5 separate regions of the Homo sapiens genome follow, and all the other regions are linked to region 4. The links are contacts of gene promoters, found by promoter capture Hi-C in blood cells and fetal thymus (Javierre and others, 2016). All regions are on one chromosome and are shown on one strand. The core of a region is centred on a gene start or on the middle of the fragment in contact, and the rest is flanking DNA. Distances in the headings are between cores, read along the strand shown.

Region 1 (2,700 bases), core at 20-2,519, 540 kb before region 4:
TTACACTGGAAGTTATCTGCATACCCATTTTGTGTTTTTGGAATGCAACTTTTCTTTTTTATGTCCATAAAATTTATTAACTCATTTTGAGAAGACATAGAAGACTAGACCATTTGGAATTACCTGCTGTAGTTTAAAAAGGTTTCCCTTCGATTATTCATCTTTGCAACATACCTACTTGTAATAATATTAAAAGATTAATGAGGTCAGAACCTCCTAAGTATATTGAAGGGTTTGCTTTTAAGGTAGTTAATATATTAAACAATCTTAAAACATCTTTGTTTATGTTTTTGTTTTATCATTACAAAATCAAATGATAGACAAGAACACAAAGTGAAAAGTGTAATTCCCTTCCACCCTGTCCTATTCCTGTTTCCTTAGGTAAATACTGTTAATAATTTGCTGTGTATCCTCTCAGGTTTTTCTGTTTGCACAAGCATTTTTTTAAAAACACAAATGTTGGCTGGGTGTGGTGGCTCACGTCCGTCATCCCAGCTCTTTGGAAGTGCGAGTGGGTGGAACGCTTGAGTCCAGGAGTTCGAGACCAGCCTGGGCAACATGGCGACACCTCTTCTCTACCAAAAATCCAAAAATTAGACAGGCGTGGTGCATACCATAGATGCAGCTACTGGGGAAGCTGAGGTGAGAGGATGGATTGAGCCTACAAGGTGGAGGCTGCAATACGCTGTGATTGTGCCCTGCACTCCAGCTGGGCGACTGAACAAGACCTTGTCTCAAACACACAAACAACGACCCCTCATTTAAAAAAGTAAATTGCTTTTTTGTGGACACAATTCTAGTACATGTATATTCACATCATTCTTTGTAATGGCTAATACTCAGTTTAAATGGACGTACTACAGTTTCTCCATTCTGTTTTTTTTTGAGACAGTCTTGCTTTGTTTCCCAGGCTGGACTCGGCTCACCGCAATGTCTGCCTCCCAGGTTCAAGCGATTCTCTTGCCTCAGGCTCCCGAATAGCTGGGATTACAAGCACCTGCCACCATGCCCAGCTAATTTTGTATTTTTAGTAGAGACGGGGTTTCACCATTGGCCAGGCTGGTCTCGAACTCCTGACCTCAGGTGATCCACCTACCTCGGCCTTCAAAAGTGCTGGGATTACAGGCATAAGCCACCATGCCCGGCCTGTTCTGTTTTTTTGGGTTTTTTTTTTTTTTAGACGGAGTCTCTCTCTGTTGCCTAGGCAGGAGTGCAGTGGCACGCTCAGCTCGCTGTAGCCTCTGCCTCCCGGGTTCAAGCAATTCTCCTGCCTCAGCCTCCTAGTGTGTGGGATTACGGGCATGCGCCACTATGCCTGGCTAATTTTGTATTTTTTTTTTTTTTGGAGACGGAGTCTCGCTCTGTCGCCCAGGCTGGAGTGCAGTGGTGCGATCTCGGCTCACTGCAAGCTCCAGCCTCCCGGGTTCATGCCATTCTCCTGCCTCAGCCTCCCAAGTAGCTGGGACTAAAAGCGCCCGCCACCATGCCCGGCTAATTTTTTGTATTTTTTAGTAGAGACTGGGTTTCACTGTGTTAGCCAGGATGGTCTCGATCTCCTGACCTCGTGATCTCCCCATCTTGGCCTCCCAAAGTGCTGGGATTACAGGCGTGGCCACCGCGCCTGGCCGGGATTCTTCTTTTCATTAAAAAAAATTTTCCCCAGCTTTTTATTTTTAAAAAGTTCACATCTTTGTAAAAGTTTAGTGATATATATATTTTGCATTTTCTTTTCCCATAAAAATGTACATGTATTAAAAATGTTTTTTGAACCTTTTGAAAATAAGTTGCAGGCATTATGATATTTCTTCCCTAAATACTTTAAAATGGATTTCTTAAAAATAAGGACTTTTTCTATGAAATAAACAATGTTAATGTGGTTTATTTTTGTATGTGTTTTAAGGATTTCTTAGCAGCTTTTTTTTTTTTTTTGAGACGAAGTCTTGCTCTGTCGCTCAGACTGGTGTGCAGTGGCATAATCTCGGCTCACTGCAACCTCCACCTCCCGGGTTCAAGCAGTTCTTCTGCCTTAGCCTCCCAAGTAGCTGGGATTACAGGCGTGCACCACATACCCAGCTAATTTTTTGTATTTTTAGTAGAAACAGAGTTTCGCCATGTTAGTCAGACTAGTCTCAAACTCCTGGCTTCAGGTGATCAGCCCGCCTCGGCCTCCCAAAGTGCTGGGATTACAGGCATGAGCCACCATGCCCCGCCTTCTACAGCTTTTATTTAAAATTGTTTTTCATTTGCATAGGGTAGAGTGGAGTGCTGGGACCCAAGAACTCGAAACAGAGTTGGCCTGTTAGACTGCGCCTTAAACAGTGTCACAGCAGATTCAGAGTAAGTAGAAATTAATTTGCAATGTAAATGTTCATCAACTTTTAATTTAAGTAATGTGTCTATATTAAATTCAAATAAATTGCTACAGGATATCTGAAATTGTACTTTCCATGATTGTTTTTCATAAAGATCCTCTCCTGTAAAAGCTCACTAGTGAGTAAGCCAGATAGAATTTCTTTCCAAAATACTATACAGAAGGCCTTATTTCTTTAGTTGCTGTACGATTTTATTAAAACAATTACACTACAGGAATTTGTATTCCAATTTTGTAGAATCTAGTGATAGAACCAGGAGTCCACCACAAAGTCCACAGAGGTGTGCTTTGAATTCTAAGGTGGAAGGAAGCAAGTGTTTTTTTAATAT
Region 2 (2,700 bases), core at 96-2,595, 520 kb before region 4:
AGACATTATTCTTGCTTTTTTAGACTTCATTAGGTGCTTTTAGATGTTTTTACGGGGTGTGTGTGTGTGTGTGTGTGTGTATGTGTGTGTGTGTGTTTTGTGTGCATATATTTTTGGTGACCTGTTGGTCCCAGTTCAGGGCTAGCTCACACTTCTGAGTTATTGGCAAGACGTGGTTTTGGTAAGATAGTATCGAGGCCAGATGCGGTGGCTCATGCCTGTAATCCCAGCATGTTGGGAGGCCGAGGCGGGCGGATCATGAGGTCAGGAGATTGAGACTGTCCTGGCTAACATGGTGAAACCCCCCTCCACTAAAAATACAAAAAATTAGCCAGGCGTGGTGGGCGCCTGTAGTCCCAGCTACTCGGGAGGCTGAGGCAGGAGAATGACGTGAACCCAGGAGGTGGAGCTTGCAGTGAGCCGAGACCACGCCACTGCACTCCAGCCTGGGCAACAGAGCAAGACTCTTGTCTCAAAAAAAAAAAAAAAAAAGATAGTATTGAGTTCCTGCTTGAGTGGTAATTGACTCTATTCACTCAGCATCTCATTTCTGTAATAGAGTCAAATATCATCACTTTTACAAACTTTTGTGTTAATAAAAGGAAAGGCAGCAAAAAATATTTTTAAAAACAGAATCTAATCATTGCCCTTAACATTTGGTATATTCATTTATCATTATGTGATCTGATAATCTAAATGTCTTCTCTCTGTGGATTCCTCTTGTATCTTACAAATAGATTTTTAAAATGAATTCTTATTTAGCTGATCTGTAGAAGTCTTTATTTAAAAGCAGGCGCTCTTGAGTTTGACTTTAGCTTTAACATTCTCTCACGACTGGGGCATCAGTCCCTCTGAGCTTTATTTTCTGATCAGTAAAATAGGGCTGATGATACATCTTCTTTGAGAGGGTTGTTGTATGTTCACTAAGATAGTATATGTGAAAGTGCCTAGATGATTATGAAGGACTGGTCAAAGGCTTGCTGGTTTCAGTTTTATTTAAAGTGCAGTGGTCCAGAGCAGGGGATCTGAGGAGTTTTGATGTTTGCATATTGCCATGTTGGAGCTGCTTCAGAACACTTGTGGGGAAGGAGTATGTTGCAAAAATGGCAGAGAAAAGGGAACAAAACCGAGATATTTGAATACTTTGATACTAAGTAGTTTAGTACCAAATAATAATGTACTTATAGGTTGCTCCTGGGGTTATAGAGAATCCTTTATTGAATGCCGGAAAGTTATCTCTTTCTTCAGTTTTGCTTTCTTATATGCTGATCCCAAGGAGACTCAATTATTAACCACCCTGTTGGTTCAGTCTGTTATAATTCCCTGTGAGGGAGTGACTGTGCTGTAGTCAGGGCTGTTAGAGTCCCTCTAGGACTTTCTGGTGTAGATGATAACAAAATGTAGACATTTTGTTTTGCAGTCAGTTTTGTAAAAGTTAGGAATTTGCTTTGCAAAAGCAAAGCAAATTTGTTCTGGAAAATTCGAATTTGTTTTGTAAAAGTTAGGAATTTGCTGTGACATTTTGTGGGAAATACTATACTTTGGTTCACTGACTAACAGAAGTTCCTCAGGCATTTCAGAATGGAAAGCAAATAGAAAAGGGTACTTTCTTTTTCCTATGCATTGACCTTTTTCATTGTATTTATTTTTAGGCATGCTTCTGACGGCCAATGAAACCCCCAAGATGGGCATCTATTACATTCCAGTAAGTAATACAAAGAGGAGTTTCAGTAAAAATAGGACAAGCAAAGATACTTTTTATTATTTATTTAATTTTTTGAGACGGAGTCTGGCGATCACCGATGCTGGGGTGCAGTGGTGCAGCCTCAGCCCACTGCAACCTCTGCCTCCTGGGTTCAAGTGATTCTCCTACCTCAACCTCCTGTAGCTGGGATTACAGGTGTACGCTACCACACCTGGCTAATTTTTGTATTTTTGGTAGAGACGGGGTTTTGCCATGTTGGCTGGGGTGGTCTTGAACTCATGACCTCAAGTGATCCTCCTGCCTGGGCCTCCCAAAGTGCTGGGATTACAGGTGTGAGCCACCACTCCCGGCCAAAGATACTTTTTAAATTGGATGTATTGAGGAACCTGGGTCTACATGTGGCTGTGTACATTAGACACAGTGGACTCACTTTTGGGTTGAATTTGCTTTCTGGAGCCAGTCAATTCATGCTCAAACATTCTTTTATGGGAACTGTTTAATATCATGTTAAAACAGACATTATAAATTAGTATTTATTCTTCTGATTTACATTTATTTTTTGTTTCCAAGTATTTCAGAATCTTAAACTTTCAGCTGTTAGTGATCCGGAGGTCTAATTCTGAAAAGTCTATTACTCTTCAAGTCATCTCACTATAGTTTGTTTCTTTTAAAAATAAGTTACATATATAAATTATCATAGATCATCCTGATCAGGGATGACATGTAGTTTGCCAAAAAAACCTTTTTTTCCCTCCTTAAATAATTCTTCTCTTAAATAGCCAGAAGCTCCCACCCTTCCCTTTAAGTTTATAGTAAAAAATGAAGCAAGGAAATACGATTTCATAAGCAGAAAAACACATAGTATAAAGTTGGCATTAGATTACTTTATACTCAGCAGACATCTCCCTTACCTGAGATTTGAGAAGAGAGTAGAGTGAGGGGTACTGAAGATCAGAATCTGAGGGAGGTGAACTCTCTGTAACCACTATCATCTT
Region 3 (2,700 bases), core at 105-2,604, 560 kb before region 4:
CTAGCATTTTGGAAGGCAAAGGTGAGAGGATTGTTTGAGCCCAGGAGTTTGAGCCTTCGGTGAGCTACAGTCACATCGCATCATTGTACTATAGACTGGGCAAGCATGAGACCCTGTCTCTAAAAAAGTAAAAATAAAAGAAATTATCTAATGTATGTAAGTATACACAAGAAAAAAAATCCAGGAGATATTTAATACGTTACGAGTAGAGTTAGGATTAGAGAATATTTTTTGCTTCCTATGTTATATATTCCTATGAAGTTTGAATTTTTAAATATAAGCATGTATTGATTTTGCAAGCCGAAAAACAATTTAGCTAAATTTGTTTTAAAATAAACTCTCTTCATTTTCTTTAAGTGGCTTTCTGATAGGAAGAAGAGAGCGCTACAGAAGAAAGATGTAGGTGAGTATTGTTTTTTCCCACTTCAGCTGCGTTAGTGATCCATGTTCTAATGCTTTTACTCATTTGCTGTTATATATAAGTGAGGATTTATAAGAATGCGGTAACATGTAGTGGAAAATGAATGCTCTTGTCCCTTTTCTTTTTTTTCCTTTGACATGGGGTCTCACTGTGTTGCCCAGACTGGTCTCTAACTCCTGGGCTTGAGCAGACCTCCCACCTTGGCCTCCCAAAGTTTTGGGATTACAGGCATGAGCCACTGTACGCAGCTCTTCTCCTTTTTTTTTTTTTTTGAGATGGAGTTTCACTCTTATTGCCCAGGCTGGAGTGCAATGGTGTGACCTCGGCTCACTGCAACCTCCACCTCCTGGATTCAAGCAGTTCTCCTGCCTCAGCCTCCTGAGTAGCTGGGATTACAAGCCACCACGCCCGGCTAATTTTTTTTGTATTTTTAGTAGAGATGGGGTTTCTCCATGTTGGTCAGGCTGGTCTCGAACTTGCGACCTCAGGTGATCCACCTGCCTTGGCCTCCCAAAGTGCTGGGATTACAGGTGTGAGCCACCGCGTCCGGCCGCCTTTCTCCTTCTTAAGAAACTTTTTGTTGTGGTTGGTATGTTCCTGGTGGGTATGGGATTTGATTTTACCTTATTAACTAATAAGTTAGCCTGTTACCGTTTCATGGATAACAATAGTAGACGCAAGACTCCTGGGCTAGAAATGCAGATGTTATTACTCACAGCACAGTAGATAGCATGAACATCAGCATATTTGTGCCAGTTCCCCTCTTGGGTCTCCTGGGGACACTTAGCACAGTCCAGGTGGATGCTTGGCACACAGTGGATTTGCGTTGTGGCCGAGCAACACAGCTTGGGAAGTCCACTGCTTTTCTGGCAAGCAGTAAGCAAACCTGTGTTTTGTCCAGAAGGGACAGGTTACCTGTCTATCAAGGTTCTCAGCAGTGTAAACAACCCTGAGAAATGGCTCAGGTAAGAGTGGCTGGGGTCTTGCAATCTCGCCATACCCAGTAAGCATGCAGGTCCAAGGAGGACTGTCTCTCCTAACAGGTCCCTAATTGCTTTGCTCTCTTGTGTATCAAAATCTTATCGTGTAAATTAAATCCATTTATCAGTGTTTGAGATACAGAGACAATGAGCATTTCTTGAAGAAAGGAATTTTACATGTAGGGTTTATGAATCTGAACAGTTAAAGGTGATTGCAGAAGATGTTGGTTCTTTTAAATTTACGGCAGCAAGAAATTGTAAGAAAAATTTCTAACTTAAATAATTTTGGTGCACAAGTTTTCATTATATTTTCTTCATTATAGCTTGTCACATATGAAAGAAAATTTATTTTCCCATATATTTTGTTTAACTTACTCTTTAAAAACCTAAGGTATCAAAGGGGTTTCCTCTTGTCTGCAGATAATTGGTTCCAAAAGAGGTATAAGTCAGCTTCGTAGCAGTTTCTTATATAAACTTAAGAGGTTGGGTCAGGCACAGTGGCTTATGCCTGTAATCCCAGCACTTTGGAAGGCCCAGGCGGGCAGATCATGAGGTCAGGAGTTCAAGACCAGCCTGGCCAACGTAGTGAAACCCCGTCTCTACTAAAAATACAAAAATTAGCCAGGCATGGTGGTGCGTGCCTGTAGCCCCAGCTACTTGGGAAGCTGAGGCAGGAGAATTGCTTGAACCTGGGAGGTGGAGGTTGCTGTGAGCCAGGATTGTGCCACTGCACTCCAGCTTGGACAACAGGTGAGACTTGTCTCAAAAAAAAAGAGTTTGGAGAGTTTGGGGGCTTAAACCTGTTACTTAGGAGAAAAAAAAGTTGGATTTTTGTCTTTGCCATGATTGAGTAGTAATAGTGGTTTAGGGGCCCAGTGCGGTGGCTCACTCCTGCAATCCCAGAAGTTTGGGAGGCTGAAGTGTGAGGATTGCTTGGCCCTAGAAGTTTGAGACCAGCCTGGGCAACGTGGCGAAACCCCATCTCTACAAAAAATACAAAAATACCTGGGTGCAGTGGCATGCGCCTGTAGTCCTAGCTATTTGGGGGGGCTGAGGTGTGAGGATCGCTTCAGCCCGGGAGGTTGAGGCTGCAGTGAGCCATGATTGTGCCACTGCACTCCAGTCTGGGTGACAGAGTGAGACCCTGTCTCAAAAAAAAAAAAAAAAAAGTGGTTTAATGTTTATGCTCTTCCTCCTGTAACACTGGATGTTTGATACACTGTTGTGGAAAATTTTTTTTCAATTAATGATGCTACTTTTTTTATTCTTGAAAAGTAAAAATGAAATACTTAGCTTAGA
Region 4 (2,700 bases), core at 162-2,661:
TGGGCCAGAGTGAGACTCTGTCTCAAAAAAAAAAAAAAAAAGAGGGGGCAGATGTGGTGGCCACAAAGAGTCATCACATTGCTACCACTTAATATTGTCTCAGCTTCTCTAGAGTCGGGAAAATACCATAAGAAAGAACTGCAAAGTGTTACAAAACAGGAAATGCCATGTAATATAAAACCCAGCTTACACACACAGATGCACTCAGCATGGAAAAACATACAAGACGAGGAAAGCGAACTAGTTCGACCTCAGATCGTCAACGTCAAATGAATGAAAGATGTTTTGGAAACTCACCAAGTTTTCATTTACTATGCCATCGCTTGCTGCAAAGAAAGCCAGAACATGGGATATAAAATATCTCTCCTCGGGTTTCAGGGATTCCCAGTGCTGAATGTCCTTGGAGAGGTCCACCTGAGGTTCGGAAGTCACAATTTTAGCATAAAAGGAAGAGAGTAAAGCCTACAGGACTCACACTGAGCACTCAAACTTTAAGTATGCTGGCACCACTTACTATGCCCCACAGTTAGCCCCCCTTGCCAACGGGAACCTCCAAGTGCATTTATGTCTGAGGCGTGACGGTCACCCCTGCAGGGGTCTTCTGGGGTCCTCCGATTACCTCCTCGGCGGTCCAAAAGGAAGCCTCTGCCTTCTTATACATCTGCCAGATATCATGGTACTCGATGGGGAAGATGACAAAGCGGCGGGGGTTTTCTCTCAGCAGCGGCTCATCCTCCACGCCGGGGGCAGCTGCTTTAGTTTTCTGTTGGGGGAGAAAATAAAACATTTAAGTACCGGGCGAACCATATGAAACTAACGTTTTTCTGGACCAAGTCCTTTCCATTGGCGGCAATTTCACGGGGCCCGATGTGAAAACGTGGCTGTCCCGTCGCACTCCGTGGGTCGCAGCAGAGGAGCGCACGCCCGAACCGGGAAATGGGCCGAGGGGCGCGGGAGGCAGCCCTGGGGAGGGGCCGCCTAGGCGGGAAAGGAGCCGGGGCGGGAGTGTGAACAGCTGAGGAAACAATGCGGCTTTGGCGCCAAGACGCCCAAGGCCGTCCCTGGCCCCTCTGCCCCACGCCCGCCACTCACCGGCTCCGTGGGCTCCTGGAAGATCCTCCTCGCGGTCTTGCTGGCCAGGACGCGGGTCCCGCTCAGGGCCGGCGGCTGCGGGGAGACGCGTGTGAGTGAGGAGCGGCTTCGCTTTCCCTGCCTCCCTCCCCTGCCCGCAGCGCCCTCCCCGCGGGCTCACCGTGTTCTCCTTGTCGACCAAGCTGAGCCCCTTCAGCGGCGAGAGCTGCAGCTGCTGCGGGTCCGTGATGGGCGCGAGCGGGACACGGAGGGAGAGCATAGTGGAGGCGCAGCGAAGCAGAGCGAGCAGCCAGGACAGGACGGCTGGGACAGGGTGCACGGGCGACCCCTCACTCCAGCAGCCTTTAAATCTCCCGCGCCGCGCGCTCCCGGCCCTTCCCATTGGCTTTGGTGCCCCGGCCCTTCCCATTGGCTGTGCCATGCCTCCGACCCTTCCCATTGGCTGCGCCTTGCCCCTACCCAGGCTGGCCGCGGGGCCGCGCGCGATTTTCAAGCGCAGCGCGGGAGCCTCCGCCGGCGCCTTCCGGAGACCCCCGGGGACACCCCCGTGGACGCCCCCCGGGACCTCCCGGTTCCCCCCCCGGCCCGTCCGCTGGCTGGGTCGGGGGCGCCGCCGCCCAGGCCCCCACAGGTCCCGCGGGACCAGGGCCGCAGCCCCTGAGGGTCTCGGCGGCCTTGGCGCGCGCGGGCCCCGGTTCGCCCGGGAACCGTTTAGGATTGCGTGAGGAGCAGCGATTGGAGCCCGCGGGCGCGAGAGGATCCCCGGGCCGCGGCCCCGCCTCCCGAAAGCACCTCCTCCCAGCCGGGCCGCCGCCGGGCAGGGGGCTTAGCCAACGAGGTTGGTGCAAAGGCCTGGAAAACGCTCCTGGGTGCGGGGGAGGCGTTGCTGCGACCCTTTCGATCCGTGTCCCTGCGGTGGGGGTGCAAGGGCCCCGAGGCCTGACATTTTGGCGGGGTGGTCGGCGAGGACCCTACAGCCTAAAAGTTAGGGCCGCTGAGCCCCGTGGCTCGTTTTGCTGGGACAAGCGACCAGGCTTCTTACAGATTCGGTGTCCCCGTGAGTAAAATGGGACTCGTAACCGCGTGGACTGTTAATGCGGTGAGGAGAGCGTTCGTTGAGATGACTCATGTAAAATGTGCAGTCCTTTGTAAACCTTCAAACTACGGGACATGGCGAGAAGGCCCTTGGTGCAGTTTTCCACAGAAATCCTGTCTCCTGTCAGACCCCTGACCCCTATTGTCACCCTTGCCTTAAGAATTGCAAACTGTGGCTGGGCGCGGTGGCTCACGCCTGTAATCCCAGCACTTTGGGAGGCCAAGGCAGGAGGATTGTTTGAGGCCAGGAGCTGGAGACCATCCTGGGCAACATAGTGAGACCCCGCCTCTGCCATTAAAAAGAGAAGAAAAAAAGTTGTTTTAATTGCAAACTGAGCAAAAATTCCTGGGAGAAAGTTCACAGAATGATTTTAGGACTAGGAATTAATGTACTACTCATTGGGCGTCAAATATGCTGAAGAGGAGTTTGAAAACTCCACTGGTGTAGAGACTGGAACTTAGCAATAGCTTTCATTTAATTTTCTATGTGGCTTTCTGATTTGCCAGGCCCTG
Region 5 (2,700 bases), core at 72-2,571, 600 kb before region 4:
TTATAAGACAGGTTGGACTTGGAGGTTACAGTATTCATCCTCTCCAGAGCTTGCAAATTTTCCTTATCGCCAGGGGCAGAAATTAACCAAAACTCCGACATGCTTCCAGTCTTCTCTTACCCAGTGACTGCCCAGAACCAGGACAAACATACACAAACAGAAACAGAAGGAGAGATGTGTCAGATATCCCCGCCTCACCACTCCCTACCCTCCAATTCATCCTTTCTAGGATGAGCTCCAAGGACATCCATTTGCAAAAGCAAAGCTCTTATCTCCACCTGGGCAGCCCTCAGGTGTTCCCGAAACTCCAAAGCTCCTTGGTCCCTGCAGTGGTTCTGGCTGGTTTTCAGGAGCAGAGGAGGAGGGAGAGGTTCCTTTCTTTCTCTCCACCTCAGTGAACAACCCCTATCAGGCATCATAAAACGGGAGGACAGTAAGCTGGAGGCGGACACCTTCTGGGGGAATATTTGTCTTCCTTCCACACTGCATCTTCTGGGATGCAGGATGGGGTGGAGGAAGGCGTGGGATGAGGAAGGGATTTTCACAACAGGCTACCAGGTCAAACCGCAGGTCAAACTGGCCAACCTTGTGATTGGTATTAGCTTTAAAAATAGACTTCAGAGGATTTTTTTAAATAAGAAAAAAAAAAGTAGTAGGGGGTGAGGGGAACTACTAAAGTCTTTTTTCCACTAGGCGAGGTGCCCGCTCAGCAGTGCTGGGTCCCTTGCCCGGCGTGGCCGGTGGTTTCGCGGCCGCGTCTGCAGCCTCTACGGCCGATTCGATTCGTGCTGCTCCTTCACAGGTGTCCACACCCGCACCTTTCCCCCTCGGCCAGGTTCCCCCTTTCCGCTTGCCTCCCCGCGGCGTCTCCGGACGGCTGGGGGAAAGCAGGATAAGCTCTGAGGAGCCAGAGACCCCTGGTGGAACCTCTTCCTTTCGGACTCCCGGTCCCGCTCCAATCCGAGGGCATTTTGTTCTCTCCTAACCCCGCGCAGACCCAACGCAGCTCCTTTCCGCCTTGACTGCCCATGGCCTGGGGACGAACTGGCCCGCCGCAGCACCTGCGGAGATGCTACCAGCCCGGCCGCGGGGAAGCGCGCGGAGGTGCACGCTGCCCACGTTTCCAATGGGAAAGCGCAGGCTGGTGCGCAGCCGGACCCCGTGCCTGTGTCCCCACCCCGCCCCTGCCTCGGGTCCCCGCTCCGCGGTGCGTCCTTACCGGGAGCCGGCGGGGCGCGGGCCGCGCGGTAGGGGGCTGCGGGCGACGGGCGGCGGGTGCGGGGCCGGAGCGCTCTGCCGGCTCCCGGGAGGCAGCGGCTTCGCTGCCCCGCGCCCCGCCCCGCCTTTTATCCCGGGCTCTGGAGGCGGCCCCGGCCCCGCAGGATATTTGCATACGGGCCGTCCGCCTCCCGCCTCGCTCCAGCCAGGGGCCCGAGAGCCGGGGAGCAGGTGCAGGCGCCGGGCAGGAAGGCGCGGAGGAGACGCGCAGGGTCTCCAGTCCCCTACGCGCGAGGGCCGGGGCCCTGGGGGCTTCTGCGGCGCGTCCCACGGGGTCTCCTGCCGCACGACTGCGCTGCCGCGTCCGGGACGCGTGGACGGCTGAGCCGGGTGGGAGTCGGGAAAAGGCTCTGAGCTCGGGACCACCCCGCCCTCCCGCTGCGGCCGCCGCAGCCCCGCTTGCCCACCCACTCTCGCCTCACAGAGACATGCGCGGATCTCAGGGGAATCACCTACTCCCAGGTGTCTCCAGGCCAGTGCAAGAGACAGGGCCCACCTGTGGGGAGCCGCGCAACAGGTGCGCAGGTGCTCGGGACGCACCTGCGTAGACAGCGAAGCTTTTCCTGTCCGTGTGGGCGCGGGTGTGCGCCCGGTTGCCCAGGAAACTCCCACCTCACCCTCTCCACCTTCCGAATTGCCCTGTGGATGGGGGGTGGGGGGGCGGTTACAACTCACCGTACGACGATCAGAGATGAGTTCATGATCGGTGCTGTCTGGAACCAGGAGGGGGAAACCCTGGAAATTAACGTGTGAAGGTTAAAAACAAGACAAAACCAAAGGAAAACTCGGAGAATTCATTTTCTCTGGACCGAAGGAGAAGGCTTTAAAGCATCCTTCCATGTGGGCGATGTTTTCAGTGGTTTCTGGGAAAGATGAAGATCTCAAGAGTGTCCTTCGAGGGGGCATTGGAGACGGTGTTCTTGCTTCCTTAAACGTGGACTCCCCCTCCTGTGTAAACTAGCCTTATCTATCAACCCATTCTTGTGAATGCATCAGGGTCTTTGGCAGAAGGATTTGACATCATCTGAGACTTAAGCTGTAATCACATAGGGTGGGATGGGAAGCCCCAGAGACGGGACAGAAAGGTGGCTTTAAGATCACAGTGGGGTCGTACTGCCAGCCTAGGTTAGACTTGGAAGTCCCAGCACCTGCAGCAGGCATCGTTATTGGGACACTAATGTGCATTAGTCAGTCCTTGCAACATCTTCCTGAGGGAGGATACCTGAAACCAAGGGATGGGGAAACTCCGGTATGTTTGAGGACATTAAGTGGCTATTCCAGGGAAGGAGTGGCCCAGTTAGACATTAAAGCGGGGTGGTCTCCAATCTTGGACGTTATCCAGGCACGACATTTTATCCAGCCAGGGAAAACATCTTAGAGCTGGGGGCAGATCTCATCTGCAAACAAGGGTGGAGATGCCCA

The links. The method cuts DNA at HindIII sites, captures the fragments that hold promoters and counts their contacts. A CHiCAGO score of 5 or more calls a contact.
Region 1: a fragment that was not itself captured here is called in contact with the fragment with the promoter of RRM2 in region 4 in 16 of 17 cell types (naive CD8 T cells, endothelial precursors, total CD8 T cells and 13 more); the score reaches 28.7 in naive CD8 T cells.
Region 2: a fragment that was not itself captured here is called in contact with the fragment with the promoter of RRM2 in region 4 in 1 of 17 cell types (activated CD4 T cells); the score reaches 5.1 in activated CD4 T cells.
Region 3: a fragment that was not itself captured here is called in contact with the fragment with the promoter of RRM2 in region 4 in 11 of 17 cell types (naive CD8 T cells, total CD8 T cells, fetal thymus and 8 more); the score reaches 10.9 in naive CD8 T cells.
Region 5: the fragment with the promoter of ATP6V1C2 here is called in contact with the fragment with the promoter of RRM2 in region 4 in 2 of 17 cell types (M0 macrophages and total B cells); the score reaches 5.5 in M0 macrophages.

The regions. Positions count from the first base shown.
Region 1 is chr2:10,662,596-10,665,295 of GRCh38, reverse strand. NOL10 (nucleolar protein 10) reads left to right here. Exons shown (of 21, transcript NM_024894.4): 9 at 2,252-2,337. Among named protein-coding and RNA genes, the nearest start is that of NOL10, 26 kb to the left of the region's middle. The HindIII fragment of the contact is 3,499 bases long and covers 1-2,700 here.
Region 2 is chr2:10,643,325-10,646,024 of GRCh38, reverse strand. NOL10 (nucleolar protein 10) reads left to right here. Exons shown (of 21, transcript NM_024894.4): 13 at 1,653-1,705. Among named protein-coding and RNA genes, the nearest start is that of NOL10, 45 kb to the left of the region's middle. The HindIII fragment of the contact is 6,652 bases long and covers 1-2,700 here.
Region 3 is chr2:10,682,270-10,684,969 of GRCh38, reverse strand. It overlaps NOL10 (nucleolar protein 10), which reads left to right. Exons shown (of 21, transcript NM_024894.4): 2 at 358-403. Among named protein-coding and RNA genes, the nearest start is that of NOL10, 6.4 kb to the left of the region's middle. The HindIII fragment of the contact is 4,977 bases long and covers 1-2,700 here.
Region 4 is chr2:10,121,450-10,124,149 of GRCh38, reverse strand. RRM2 (ribonucleotide reductase regulatory subunit M2) reads right to left here and starts at 1,411. Exons shown (of 10, transcript NM_001034.4): 1 at 1,253-1,411; 2 at 1,093-1,167; 3 at 620-763; 4 at 298-414. The coding sequence starts at 1,351. RefSeq lists silencers at 1,450-1,950, 1,357-1,956 and enhancers at 2,177-2,286, 2,307-2,376, 2,134-2,689. The HindIII fragment of the contact is 3,317 bases long and covers 1-2,700 here.
Region 5 is chr2:10,720,251-10,722,950 of GRCh38, reverse strand. ATP6V1C2 (ATPase H+ transporting V1 subunit C2) reads right to left here and starts at 1,321. Exons shown (of 14, transcript NM_001039362.2): 1 at 1,220-1,321; 2 at 1-127. The coding sequence starts at 101. The HindIII fragment of the contact is 5,016 bases long and covers 1-1,837 here.